5 separate regions of the Homo sapiens genome follow, and all the other regions are linked to region 3. Evidence: promoter capture Hi-C in 16 types of primary human blood cells and fetal thymus (Javierre and others, 2016). All regions are on one chromosome and are shown on one strand. The core of a region is centred on a gene start or on the middle of the fragment in contact, and the rest is flanking DNA. Distances in the headings are between cores, read along the strand shown.

Evidence for each region. Contacts are between HindIII fragments. The CHiCAGO score rates a contact against its expected background, and 5 or more counts as called.
Region 1: a fragment that was not itself captured here is called in contact with the fragment with the promoter of KEL in region 3 in 1 of 17 cell types (M2 macrophages); the score reaches 5.6 in M2 macrophages.
Region 2: a contact is called between a fragment that was not itself captured here and the fragment with the promoter of KEL in region 3, in 1 of 17 cell types (neutrophils). The highest score is 5.4, in neutrophils.
Region 4: a contact is called between the fragment with the promoter of GSTK1 here and the fragment with the promoter of KEL in region 3, in 3 of 17 cell types (neutrophils, erythroblasts and M0 macrophages). The highest score is 11.7, in neutrophils.
Region 5: a fragment that was not itself captured here is called in contact with the fragment with the promoter of KEL in region 3 in 1 of 17 cell types (neutrophils); the score reaches 5.8 in neutrophils.

What each region holds. Positions count from the first base shown.
Region 1 is chr7:142,642,851-142,645,550 of GRCh38, reverse strand. It overlaps TRB. Among named protein-coding and RNA genes, the nearest start is that of PRSS1, 110 kb to the left of the region's middle. The HindIII fragment of the contact is 2,756 bases long and covers 13-2,700 here.
Region 2 is chr7:143,324,388-143,327,087 of GRCh38, reverse strand. CLCN1 (chloride voltage-gated channel 1) reads right to left here. Exons shown (of 23, transcript NM_000083.3): 7 at 2,596-2,674. Among named protein-coding and RNA genes, the nearest start is that of CLCN1, 9.6 kb to the right of the region's middle. The HindIII fragment of the contact is 1,624 bases long and covers 491-2,114 here.
Region 3 is chr7:142,961,081-142,963,780 of GRCh38, reverse strand. It overlaps KEL (Kell metallo-endopeptidase (Kell blood group)), which reads left to right and starts at 1,418. Exons shown (of 19, transcript NM_000420.3): 1 at 1,418-1,577; 2 at 1,909-1,986; 3 at 2,280-2,421; 4 at 2,677-2,700. The coding sequence starts at 1,575. RefSeq lists a silencer at 1,459-1,654. The HindIII fragment of the contact is 12,002 bases long and covers 1-2,700 here.
Region 4 is chr7:143,262,097-143,264,796 of GRCh38, reverse strand. GSTK1 (glutathione S-transferase kappa 1) reads right to left here and starts at 1,356. Exons shown (of 8, transcript NM_015917.3): 1 at 1,212-1,356; 2 at 630-711; 3 at 121-249. The coding sequence starts at 1,283. All of the region lies in intron 2 of TMEM139-AS1 (TMEM139 antisense RNA 1), which reads left to right. It overlaps LOC105375546 (a long non-coding RNA gene), which reads right to left. Exons shown (of 3, transcript XR_007060569.1): 3 at 1,590-1,649. RefSeq lists enhancers at 1,109-1,328, 1,147-1,441 and a silencer at 1,469-1,538. The HindIII fragment of the contact is 19,965 bases long and covers 1-2,700 here.
Region 5 is chr7:143,343,782-143,346,481 of GRCh38, reverse strand. CLCN1 (chloride voltage-gated channel 1) reads right to left here. Exons shown (of 23, transcript NM_000083.3): 17 at 720-961; 18 at 231-342. Among named protein-coding and RNA genes, the nearest start is that of FAM131B-AS1, 17 kb to the left of the region's middle. RefSeq lists silencers at 886-965, 772-1,066. The HindIII fragment of the contact is 4,049 bases long and covers 1-2,700 here.

The DNA of each region.
Region 1 (2,700 bases), core at 141-2,640, 320 kb after region 3:
GTTTGATAAGCTTTTTTTCAGTTAATGATCATCCTTTCTCATCGATGCATTTTCATCTTATCTACTATTTAGTTTTTATGCAAAGTTTCACAGTTGTTTCAAAAACGTCCTTTGCCATTAATTTGAGCATCAGTTTCTAACTCAAGACTGGACATTCCTTCTGGCTATTAGTTATCTAATTATCTTTTATATATTTCAGATCTCTGTTGTAATTGCTATCTTTATGATTCTGAAACTAGTGACTGCTTTGAAAAATACTTCACCTTCTAGCTCTTTCTGGTGTATTTTAGCTTGTTCATTTACTAGTGCTTCTTTTACATAACCTCCCTTTTTTGCTTTTTCTCTCTGTAACTATTTATTTTAAATTGTGCATTTTTTGATGATTTTTTTTTTCGCTTACTTTTCTCTTCCTCCATCTCATCCTCATTTCAGGTAAGTAATGTTAACAGCTTAATGTATATCTTTCCATAGATTTCTCCTTACTAATTTAATTGTTCAGTGAGGTTGTTTTCTCCACATTACAAAATGGACTTTGAATATATAGATAATAACTTGATAAAATACCAACAGAATGATCACTTAAAAAAACAACTTGGCACAGGAAATAAAAGATTACCAGAATATTTGAAAGCTCTTATTTCTTTTCCCAGATTCCATGCCTCTGTTCTCTAACTCTATTGAGGTGTTTGTTTTTGTAATTATTTGCTTCTCTTTTATATTTTAATGCATAGGCACATAAGCAAACAAAATAGTGTTTAGTTTTAGATGCTTTCAAACTTTACACAAACGAGACAATACTGTACCTTTCTTCTGCAATGTAATTTTTCATTCAAATTTGTGAAATTCATTCATGTTTGTGTGTTTAGTTTTAGTTCATGAATTTTCACTGCTGTGTAATTTCTTTTTAATAACCAGGATTTATTCTTCTCTTAAGTTACATTTGGATATTTTATACGTTTTTGCCATGACAGATGTATTACAGTGAATATTCTTGTCCTGATTTTCGTAGAAGGGTTTCTCTAGAAAAGCCTTTCTCAAGGGTGGAATTGATGGATAGTGGGTACACACATCTTGAACTTTACTAGATAATACCAAATTGTTTTCCAAACTGGATCTACCGATATACACTCTAGCCAGTGATTCAGAGAGTTCTTGTTGACACTTTGCCTTGCCAACACTTGATAGTTACTATTTTTATCATCGTAGCCATTCTTGTGGGTATATATTTCGTTGGACTCAATTTCTATTTCCCTGATTATTAAATATAGCCACATTTACATGTTTAATGACCAGTGAGATTTTGCTAGGTGCTTATGGTTTTCACTCACTTTTTCCATTGACAGTTACCTTTTTCTCATTGATCTGTAGAAAAATTAGTTTGTAGGTTTTTAAAAAATTTATATACTAGCTTTTCTTGAATATATAAATATAAATAGGGATATTAATTTGGTATAAATATATAGATATTTAATGATATGTCACTATACAGTCAATCTTGTCACTGTTACATAATTAACATTGATAAATTCAATATGTTAATTTTGATATAGCCATTTTTATCAATCTGTTCCCTACTGATTGAGGGAATAAGAACTCTTTCCCTGCTTTAAGGCCATGAAGATGTGCTCTTATACAGTATTCTAGAAGCCTTGTGATTTTATTACAATTATGCTTTTAATATAGCTGGGATTGATTTTGGCTATATATTGAGATGTGTCCAATTGCACTTATTTTTCTTTATATAGATACCCAATTTTCCTATCACCATTTATTGAAAAATATATTCTTTGATTGTTGCAGTACCATTGCTCTGTGTTTATGAACATGTATTTTTTTCCTTGGATCTATTTATATATCAATGCCCTTATATTACACCACTTTTATTGTTGTGGTTTTATAATAATTCTTCATGTTTGTTAGATTTAGTCCTCTCACTTGGAGCTTCTATTTCAGTGCCTCAGCTATTCTTTTATCCTTTGCAGCTATTCTTTTATCCTATCCTATCCTTTATCCACTGGTAGGAGACTCATGCAACTTCATTCATGGAGGCTTTTCATTTCCTACTTTGGTGATTTCTTGGAATCTTAGCTAAGTCTTGTGTCTTTCCAAAAGGAACCTCAGTGGAAAAGGTTCTGTGCACCTCAGTAAACTAACATATGACATTTTACCAACTATTCCCTGTTACCCAAGAAGTGTTTGCGGCTTCTTCTGCCTGGGTTACCTTTATTTTTTTCCCGAATTTTCTTAGAAATATCAAATACTAGACAAAACAAAACTCTCACTCTCTCTCTTTCCCTCTTTTGTTTTTACATCCCATGTTCTAATCACTCCTCACTCTTAGGCTTCTTTAATCTCCATAAGGAACCAGAATACCACAGTCTTAACTTCCATGCCTTTTATCTCTGTGATCTAAATCTATATTTGGTTGGAATTTTCTGTCCCCATAGTTCAATTATTTACATGCTGAAATCTGCAGAGTCTCAACCTCTAGTCCAGCCTTATGGCATCTCAATTTCACATCTTGTCTATGCAGTTGCCTGCTTCTAGTTTTTATCTCATTGTTCCATAGACAGTTGAACCCTATTATCCCAAATGGGAACTGCTACTGCTAACATGATTTCATATTGTTTGAAACTGTGCCCTTTGTTAAGGATCAAAGTTATATGAGGAAAATTGAAAAATAGTATCATTTCAAAGTTA
Region 2 (2,700 bases), core at 53-2,552, 360 kb before region 3:
TCTTAATAGAGATGGGGTTTCACCATATTGGCCAGGCTGTTCTTGAACTCCTGACCTCATGATCCGCCTGCCTTGGCCTCCCAAAGTGCTGGGATTATGGGCATGAGCCACTGTGCCTGGCCACTGATAACTTTTTTAGTTTAAAAAAAACTCTCTTTAACCAAGCATTTTCCAACTGGTTTATAGAACCATTTTTACACATTAGATCTAGTAAACCATGAAACACATTCGTGCAAATCCTAGTCTAGAGAATAAATTCCATATTCTTATACATAGCCATGAGAGTCTTCATAATTCAGCCCCCCTTTACTTGTCCAGCCTCATTTGCTATTATTCCTTCCTCTGTATCCCCTGGTAATACTCAGCTACTGCCCCCATCTTGACTTTGCAATGCTGTTTCCTCTGTCCAGAATACCTTGCCCACCATCCTCCTTGCCAGTCCTACTTATTATTCAAGCCTCATGTCAAACACCACCTCTTTTGTGAAGCTTCATGGGCTCTTGTAGGCAGGTTAGCATAAGGTCCCCACTGCACTTTACCCCAGCTGCCATTGGGCCACTTTTTCGAGTGAGCTATGACAATAGGTTTGCCTGCCTGTCCAGCCTCTCAACTAGGAGCACCCTGAGTGTGCAAGATCCAACACAGGGCCTGGTACAGAATGGGAGCAAGATGCTTGTCATTTCAGTAGAATGCTGAATTCCATTTATTTCATTAGTGTAAGAAATTAAGAGCTGACTCCATAATGAATACCTCATTTTGATACTAATTTTCCTTTCAGAATTATTCGGTATTCTTTTTTAAAAATCAAGTAATAGGCCAAGGTGGGCGGATCACTTGAGGTCAGGAGGTTGAGAGCAGCCTGGCCAACATGGTTAAACCCTGTCTCTACTAAAAATACAAAAAATTAGCCAGGCGTGATGGCGCAGGCCTGTAATCCCAGCTACTTGGGAGACTGAGGCATGAGAATTGCTTGAACCCAGGAGACAGAGGTTGCAGTGAGCCAAGATGGTGCCACTGCACTCCAGCCTGGGTGACAGAGCAAGACTCCATCTAAACAAACAAACAAACAAACAAACAAAAAAAACAAGTAATGCCACCTGCAAATACCTTTGTCATTTACCACATAATACAAACAGCGTAAACATGGCACCTTAATTTTTAAGTACTTAACAATTTCTTGTGTCAACAGCAATGTTTTATCTGTGAATTTTTTCTTCCTTTTTCTACCACAGTGGTTTCAGAACTGTTGCCTGTAACTTCTCTGTGATCTTTACCTCTCCCATACTTGACACAGGACCAAGAAGAACTTTTCTGATTCTTCTCAGAAATTCCAATTTTACGAGGAAAATGCAAATTCTCTTCATGTTAAGAGAATCTGGCTGATTAAAACAAAACAACAGAAGTCTCCCAGTCTAAAAATATTATTTAAACCTCCTGGATTTGAAAGGCTAACGAGTAAATAAAGGCAAAAGTGGGTATAAATGTAAGTGTGAACGTTTAACATGTGCAAAAATCCAAATACACTATCCTCCACTGACAAGGATTAGTGATTTTAATGAGTAGAGCTGAGGACAGAAATGTAAACAGGATGCTAGCTGATGTGCTTGCTAACTTGGGTTCCTTAGTCTGTGTGCTTTGCCACAGTGTTTGCATAAGTTAGATCATGCATTTGCATTAACTTTAAACTCTTCTCCACTTATCATTCCTGCACCAAGTCATTTTAGTTCCCTGGAAGATTCTATGAAAAGATTGCTTAACATTTCCATAACTGAAAAGAAACCTCTAACAGTGGGTCATTTAAGAAGCATATGCCCTTCCTGCAATTTTGTTTCTTCACATATCAACTTGGTGTCCTTTTTATCATCAATGAATCCAGTGAATGATCTATATAATCCTGCCCTGCTAATCTAGCTATAATTGATTTTGATGAGTCAATAAACAGATACGACTGCTTTCTCCGACTACATCCATTTGTTAATCATCCATGATAAGGAAAATAATCTGAGAGATCGCTATTTGCCTTATACTTGGAGAAAGAGCTAAACTTAACTTTAAATTGCTATCAAGGGACATTTATCCTTTGAAACTCTCCTAACTATTCCACACTAAAAGCTTACCATTAATCTAAATAAGGTCTACCTGAATTCCCATGCAATTAATAAAGCACAACAAAATGTGGATTTTTCCCTTGAAGGAGGAAGTTCATAGAGTCCCCTGTTAGAGATGTCATCGGTGTAGGGCAAAAACATCCAACAATACAAACAGGTTTGAAAATAAGTAGGGGAGCCACGGAGACTGCCTTGGTTTTAATTCCTGGCTTGTACCTTACTAACAGAATGAACTTGCTCAAGTCACTGTCCCTCTCTGTAACTCAGTTCTCTCCTCTTCCTCCTCTGTAATATCTGTCTCATATGGCTTTGGCCAGGAATAAAAGTAAGTGCTTTAAACATTGCCTGGCACATAGCAAAGGCTTACTAAAAGTCAGCTATTCTCGTAAGTAACCTGGTAATACCAGCACTTGTGGATACTGATTAAAACTGTTTTGGGAGCCAGGCCAGGCAAGCCGATTGATGGGGGAGGGGGTCAATCACTTGCCTCCAAGTGGTGTCCCAAAACAACAGCCGACTCCCACAGCACAGCCCACCGTCAGGATATCAGAGTAGTAGTATGGCTGCTACTAGGGGAGAGACAGACAGAGAA
Region 3 (2,700 bases), core at 169-2,668:
TTTCATGATACCCGACCAGCTGGCCCCAGGGGGCACAATGGCTTTACTCCACTTCTCCACACCCACCCTCATCCTGGCAAGTGCACCATGGCCCTAGCACAGTGCTGATGGAATCTGGAAATATCGCCAGGGGATCATTTGCAAGACTAACCTAATAAATTACATTATTTTTTTCCTGGGATGAGGAAACAAGGACAGAGTTGAAACACCTTCCCCCAGAAATGTGCTTGCCTCTCTCAGACCACAGGTAAGGGCTTAATATGATGTGAGAAAGAGGATTTCTGGCTTGGAATGCAATTCATTTCTATTAACATTTAGAAAGCATCTTGGGTGGGCAGGAATGAAAACCAGACACTGTACATGCTATGACATAGTTTTCAATCACTAAGGAGATGAAGAGGCAAGCTATCAGTGTAACAGAAAGCAGAATGAAAGAAAGAGGGGCTCAGTAAAGCCTTATTCTTTTGTAGAAGGCATGAGATCCTATGAGGTAGGCATAGGCAAGTATTACCCTCATTTTCCAGATGACAAAACTTGCTTACCTGCCTCAGAGTTTAAGTGGCTTGTTTATTGTCACAGAGCTAATAATTAGCAGATTAGGGTCTCCTAGCTGGGTGATCTTTTGAATGCATGACTTTGCCAGCAGCCAGCAGAGCTATGAAACACCGAGAGAAACAATTAAGCATGCTTGGGAACAGTGTGAATGGGCATGGAGCTGGGAGGCCTCCTGGGAAAGGTGGCATTTGACCTGGGAATTGATGAATCCCAGAAAAGCCAATCAGAGAGGTGTGAAAACAAAATTAAAATGGAGACTGGGCCTGAAAAATTCCCAGGCAAACAAAGCCAAAGACCTTAAAAATAGCCATATTCTTGCTAAAACTACAAACATAAATTAAACTTAACTTGGGTCAATTTCTGATAAATGCTTACAACAAATAAAACTTAACCCCAGCCAATGATAAGCAGCCAACTAACATATGATTATGTGACTAGGGACTTTCCAAAAAGTTACCTAAAAAATGCAATTATGTAACTGCAAACTAAGCAAATAATGTTTCATTTTGCTTCTATAACTTCCCAATAAATGCTTGCCTCTGACATTTTGTCATCGCAACACTAAACCTTTGTCGGTCTGGTGCTCCCCAATTCATGAATTGCTTCTTACTTAAATAAACTCTTTAAAATTTTACTGTGCCTCATATTTTTTTTAATACAGAAGAAATGAGAGAAGGAAGAATATTTTAGAAATAAAGGAACTTCATGGGCAGAGTCACAGTGCAAGACAAAAGGAGCAGACCAAGGGCAAGATTGCTTGGGGAGTGAAGACTCCCTCCCTCTTCTCCCCTGAGAAGCTGAGATAAAGGGGGAGGAGAAGCCTGGGTGCCCCCCACTGATAAGCAGGCTCCACCCAGAGGCCAGTCCTGTGTGTCTGGGGACAAGGCGAAAGAGCAGCAGAAGTGCCCCTTCTCCAGGATCAAGGAACTGGGGCGGGGGGTGTTTCCTGGACCCCAGTCCTCCGAATCAGCTCCTAGAGTGGAACCAGGAAGGATTCTGGAGCCACAGAAGATAGACAGATGGTAAGTCCCCTTTTGGAGTCAGAGGCTTAGCGGGGAGGGGTGAGGGTGGCTGTGTGCAAAAGTCCTGCCCCCACTGGAGGGGAGGGAATGTAAGGCTTACAGAGTAGAAAGGTGGGGAGAGAGGGAGGTAATGGGAGAGGGATCGAGAAATGGCACATTCAGGGGACAGGTTCGTTCTGAAGCCCATCTGGGAACACTGCTCCGAGATAAAAATATGTGTGTGGGGGCAGGGCAGGCAGCGAGGGTATCAAAATGGCCTGATAAAACTCTCTTCAATGCACCATTTCCTGAACCAGCTTCTCTCTCCTCCTTCTCCCTCCACTCACTTCAGGAAGGTGGGGACCAAAGTGAGGAAGAGCCGAGGGAACGCAGCCAGGCAGGTGGAATGGGAACTCTCTGGAGCCAAGAGGTAAGTGGCCTCCTCTCCTGGGTCTGGAATACACTGATGTTGTCACTCTCGGCTCTAAAATCCCACAAACACTCATCTACTAACTGTCTGCTTCATCCTCACCCAAAACAGTTGACATTCCTTGTTTTCTCATCTCCCAGGAGTTAAAGTAGGGCTGGGTTTAGGAAGAATTGGGATAATTATTTCTGTATAAAGGGACTGTAGCACCAACAGATTCATTCTCTCTCCTCTTCTTCCCATCCCTGTCTCTCAACCCCCATCTTGTATCTTTCACCTCTTGGTTCCTCCCACAGAGCACTCCAGAAGAGAGGCTGCCCGTGGAAGGGAGCAGGCCATGGGCAGTGGCCAGGCGGGTGCTGACAGCTATCCTGATTTTGGGCCTGCTCCTTTGTTTTTCTGTGCTTTTGTTCTACAACTTCCAGAACTGTGGCCCTCGTAAGCAAGATCCCAGACCCCCTAACCTAGTCAGCCCTCCCCCAGCCCTGGGGCCCAGGCCCAGTCCCTGCTCCTGGGGCTTCTGCCCACCCTGACCCTTGGGGTCCCCATGGTTCTTCTTCCTCCCTGCATCCTAACCATTTCTTTTTCATCAGCTCCCCACTTAGTTACTCACCTGATGTTCTTTGCCTAGCCCCTTGGGGGAGCCCTTGTCTTTTTGCCTCTTCTTTCCCAGCTCTGAGCTTTTCCCCACAGGCCCCTGTGAGACATCTGTGTGTT
Region 4 (2,700 bases), core at 107-2,606, 300 kb before region 3:
GTTTCCCAAGGCAGGCTTCACTTGCTTTAGTCTCCCGCAGCCCCTCCATCCTATCAATCCCTCAATCTCCGACTTCTGTGTTTTTCACTGGATACCCTGTCTACATCCCACTCTCTTCACCTTTTTCAAGCATCACAGACAAGAAATCCTTGGGGAAGTGGATGGGAATCTGGAGATGGTGTCTCAGGAGCTTTAAGTCATTTGCCATGTATAGTCCTTTGCGGGGAAGCAGACCTGGAGGCTTGTTTCCTGCCAGGAGAAGGTTGGGCACGCTAAGTGAGAAAAGACCTAAGGGTCCCAGGTTTGGGGACCTCGACGTGGGTTTTGGGCAGAGGGCAGCTTCCTTTTTTTTCTCTTGTTGTTTCGCTCTTGTTGCCCAGGCTGGAGTGCAATGGTGCGATCTCAGCTCACCGCAACCTCCGCCTCCTGGGTTCAAGCGATTCTCCCGCCTCAGCCTCCCGAGTAGCTGTGGTATACAGGCATGCACTACCACGCCCGGCTAATTTTGTATTTTTAGTAGAGACGGGGCAGAGGGCAGCTTTCTGGCTGCCAGTGCCAATATAAGGACCCGCTGGGGTCGGCTCTCTTGGGCCACTGAGATCACCCCTGCCCCGACCCTCCCTTCCTACCACTGTCTTTCATGATCCCTGTTATGAGGCTGGGCCGCAACTGCAGGTTGATGTTCCAGATATTCTGATACCGGCACAGGATCTGCGGGCAGAGGTCAAGAACGATTGCCAGTGTGCAAGATGGAAAAGTGAAAGAGCCGAGGGAAAGGGAAGGGAGGCGCTAAGTGCAGAGCAGGGGTTATGCGGACACCCTACATTGTTTGGTTTGAAATTGGCAAAACTCTCCTCACTACTAGAAATCTATTCCAGGATCTTCGCTCCTGTGGCCAGTTTTCCCCAAAACTGCCATCGTTGGGCTAAGAGGTGGCCGTGTTCTGCATTTCTCCCTGAATGTTTGGAGCCGCCCCTCTTTCCACCACCGTGGGAAACTGCAGTCGGGATATAAAGGCTCGGGTTGGAGCCAGCGACTCTATTCCGTTTAAAAGCACAAAGTGACCTTCAGCCCCGGAGCTCTCCCTGCTTGCCTTAACCCCTTGGGCGGCGCCAGGAGTTACACGAGACCTCTGTCCCGGAGCCCTGCGCTCACTCTTCCCTCCGCCCTCACTCCCCAGACACTGCCGAGGCGACCCCTCCCAGCGTCACCTCGAAGCCCAGCCAGGAGTAGGGGGACAGCACGTCATAGAAGAGCTCCACGGTGCGCGGCAGGGGCCCCATGCTGCAGGCTCCGGAAGAGCAGTGGCAGCAGGAGCTCCTTTTCCCGGAACCCGGCAGAGGCTGCCCAGCTTCTGGGCCTGCCTGGGACCGCCCACCGCCTTAGCGCGCAGCCTCAGAGAGAAACTGCCCTGGTAGAGGTCCACCTCCGGCGCAGCGGGGCAGGGCCAGCCTACGGCCCCCAGCCAGGGGCGGGGTGGGTAGGGACCCCTTGGGGAGCGCGCAGGTGTGGACAAGGGGCGCTGCAATCGCCTTTGCAAAAATTTTAACAGTGAGAAAATTACGAAGGTGAAACAGATCTGAACTCACCAACTCCATCGTGCCTTTAACCTCCAAACTGCCCTTGGTCATTCCTGAGCATGGGACGAGCTAATATAGGGAGAAATTTAGTTTATAGTTTAAATGATAATAGCCCTTCCCCAAACTAAACCAGTTTTATAAAACTAATAAAAGTCCACAAGTTTAGGATTATGAGAGGGGCCTGAATTCTGCTAAGATGTAGGCATTAACAATTACCAGACATTGTTCCAGAGGTCACAAGCTCTGCAACTTCCCCAATTATTCCTGTAAATAACCACTTTTGTAGAACCTAAGACTGGCCTTTGAAGATACCTTCTCAGACTTTTCCATTTCTAATGACAGGATGACTCCACCTGGACCAGTGACTCCTCTGTGGCCCGCATCCAAATGCAACTCGGTGCACTGAGGACGGTTTTCCACACCCCTGTGATTGCATCCCCAACCAATTAGCAGCACCCATTCTCTAGCCCCTTGCCCATCAAACTATCATTAAAAAACTCTAGCCGGCGGGCATGGTGGCTCACGCCTGTAATCCCAGCACTTTGGGAGGCTGAGGTGGGTGGATCACTTGAGGTCAGGAGTTCAAGACCACTCTGGCCCACATGGTGAAACCCTGTCTCTACTAAAAATGCAAAAATTAGCCGGGCATGGTGGCATGTGCCTGTAATCCCAGTTACTCGGGGGGCTGAGTCAGGAGAATTGCTTGAATCCGGGAGGCAGAGGTTGCAGTGAGCCGAGATCATGCCACTGCACTCCAGCCTGGGTGACATAGCAAGACTCCCTCTCAAAAGAAAAACAAAAACAAAAACAAAAAAACCCACAAAGTCCCCTAGCCTCTGCCTCCGAATTTTGGGAGGCTAATTTGAGTAATAATAAAACTCTGGTCTCCTGTTTAGCTGGCTCTATGTGTATTAAACTCTTTCTCTATTGCAATTCCCTTGTCTTGATAAATTAGCCCCATCTGGGTAATGGGCAAGATGAACCCATTGGGCTGGTGTCAGGGTGACTGTCCTGCTCTGCAGTGGAGTCTTGTGGGAAGGGGGTAGTTTGAGATGCCTGCAGTGCCTTTCACTTAGCTGTGCCCCTTGGGTGAGCCACTTGACCTCTCTGAACCTATTTC
Region 5 (2,700 bases), core at 1-2,500, 380 kb before region 3:
CTTCCCAGGTACCTCACCCTCTCTTCTACCCTCCTAAATCACCCTCTGCTCCCACTCCCTGGGACAGTAACAAGGAGAATTGATGAATAAGAACCCTGTCCTCCCTCAATCCCCCAGCCTCACCCCCCACCCCACCCCGCATAGGAATTGCATGCAGGTCAAGGTCAGGTCCTAGTGACCAGAGAGAACCCACAAGGGGTGAGTTGGGGTGCATGAGGGAAGAGCGTCACCTGCAGGCTCTGGTGCTTCCGGCTGCTGTTTGTGGCCAGGCAGAGGCCCATTGGGCTCTTCTGGGGACAGAGGGGCAGTAGTAGAGGGGTGGAGAGCAAGGGAAGGAGGAAGCTGTAAGGAAGAGTAAGAAGTCTCAGCCTGGGAGCAGAGACTGCCTGGGCCTTCACTGCCTTTACCAGTTGGTGGATGTTCTGGGAAAGCGAACTCTATTCTTCCCCCCAGTTCAGAAATTCCTATATCCCTTTGAATTGTCGAGGATACCATCATCTGCAACCTTATCTTCTTTAGTCCCTGGACCCAGAGGCACTGGTCTCTATGGTACCTGATCCAGAATTTCTGGCTTTCTCAGTTACCAGACTCTCCCCTCCCTCTTCCCACTACTTTCAGGGAAACTACGCCTGTCCCAGCCCAGCCCAGCCCAGCCCAGACGACGCTTTTCCCTTTGCTCCTGATCTATCCCACTCCCTAGCCCTTCCCGGCGCGGTCACCTCGCTCTTGCCAGAGAGGTCTTCGTCCTCATCCTCATCCACAAAGGCGAAGGACTCGGGCCGGCCTGGAGGCGCGCCGGGGAGCCCCTCCCCAGCCAGCCGCGCCTTCCCGTCGTAAGGCAGCTCCGACAACTTCCGCGCCATCTCTTGGGCTGCGCGCAGCCTGCGCTCAGGACACAGGTGGCGCTGCAGGAGGGCCTGCAGTTCCGACCGCTCCACCGAGCCCAGCAGGATCATTGAATCTGAGGGAAACCCACGCCCTGCCTGAGCGCCCCCTCCAAGCCCTCTCGCACCACCGCGCTCCGCACTCCTGAGAAGGAACAGGAGAGGCGCCACCCTGCCCGGCGTCCCCACATCTTTCTCAGCTTCCTGGAAACTCATTTTAAGAATCCTCCAAGATTAACCTCACTCAATCCCTTTTATTTCATCCATTTAGCAGGTACGGGGCCAATTGGTAGAGCACTAATTGGGCTAATTTGTACTTATTTTGATGAGGCCTTATATAGACTTCAGATAGGTGAGCTGATAATTAAGGAGGCTAATCAATGCTGTCCAAATAAAAAGAAACATGAGAAGCCATTCAAATAAGCTGAGACGTGAACACGCTTTGAAAGAAGTCTATAAGCAATACAAACATTATATCTCTCCCTGGAAAAAGGGAAACAAGGGAACTCTTTCTTTTGTATCTGACATTTCATCATTTAAAAAACCTGGGCCAGGCGGTGGCTCACGCCTGTAATCCCACTACTTTGGAAGGCCGAGGCAGGCGGGTCGCCTGAGGTCAGGAGTTCGAGACCAGCCTTGGCCAACATGGTGAAACCCCGTCTCTACCAAAAATAAAAAAATTAGCTGGGCGTGGTGGCAGGCGCCTGTAATCCCAGCTACTTGGGAGGCTGAGGCAGGAGAATCGCTTGAACCCGGGAGGCAGAGGTTGCAGTGAGCTGAGATCGCACCACTGCACTCCAACCTGGGCGACAAGAGCGAGATTTCATTAAAAAAAAAAAAAAAAAACCCTGCTAGGATAAATCAAAATGCCTACTTTTCCTGAGAAGGTCTTTTATATGATTATAGAAATTTTGCTACTATAGTTAACATTTTTATTAAGTTTTAAGGCCAAGACATTGCAGCAGTGCTCTGGAGATGAATTTTACTGTTAGGTCTCAGTCATTATTATGAAAACCTTGCCCCTCATTTGTTGGCTGTACCCCTCCTCTAATAAAGAGCCTCTGCTGTAGAACGTGGAATGTATATGAGATTTGGGAAAATATTTGAATTAATTTAATTTGAGAAATTTGGATATTCTGATTATTGGAAATCAGAACTAACAATCTTAATGACTCCAAATGGCCCTACATGATTTTTCTTTATTACACTAATTCAAACACTAGGAAATTATTCATTTAATATCTAGTAGATACCTATAACAAGGCACTCTGGGTATATAGAATTCATAGCCTCTATTCTCAAGGAATGCCCACCTAGTTAGGAAGACAAGATATAGATATATAAACCACAATAAGAAATCATACAAAGCAGGATGAAGTGTCAAATGATGGTGAAGGCAGAGAAATGTGAAATTATCGTTTACTAACAACCATTCACTCCTCCATGTGAAACAGTTCCAGCCGGGCACAGTGGCTCATGCCTGTAATCCCAGCACTTTGGGAGGCCAAGGCTGGTGGATCGCCTGAGGTCAGGAGTTCGAGACCAGCCTGGCCAACATGGTGAAACCCCGTCTCTACTAAAAATACAAAATTAGCTGGGCATGGTGGTGCATTCCTGTAATCCCAGCTACTCAGGAGCCTAAGGCAGGAGAATCACTTAGAACCCAGGAGACAGAGGTTGCAGTGAGCCAAGATGGCGCCATTGCACTCCTGCCTGGGCAACAGAGTGAGGCTCTGTCGAAAAGAAAGAAGAGAAAAGAAAAGAAAAGAGAGAGAGAGAAAGAGAGAGGGAAAGAGGGAGGGAGAGAGAAAGAGAG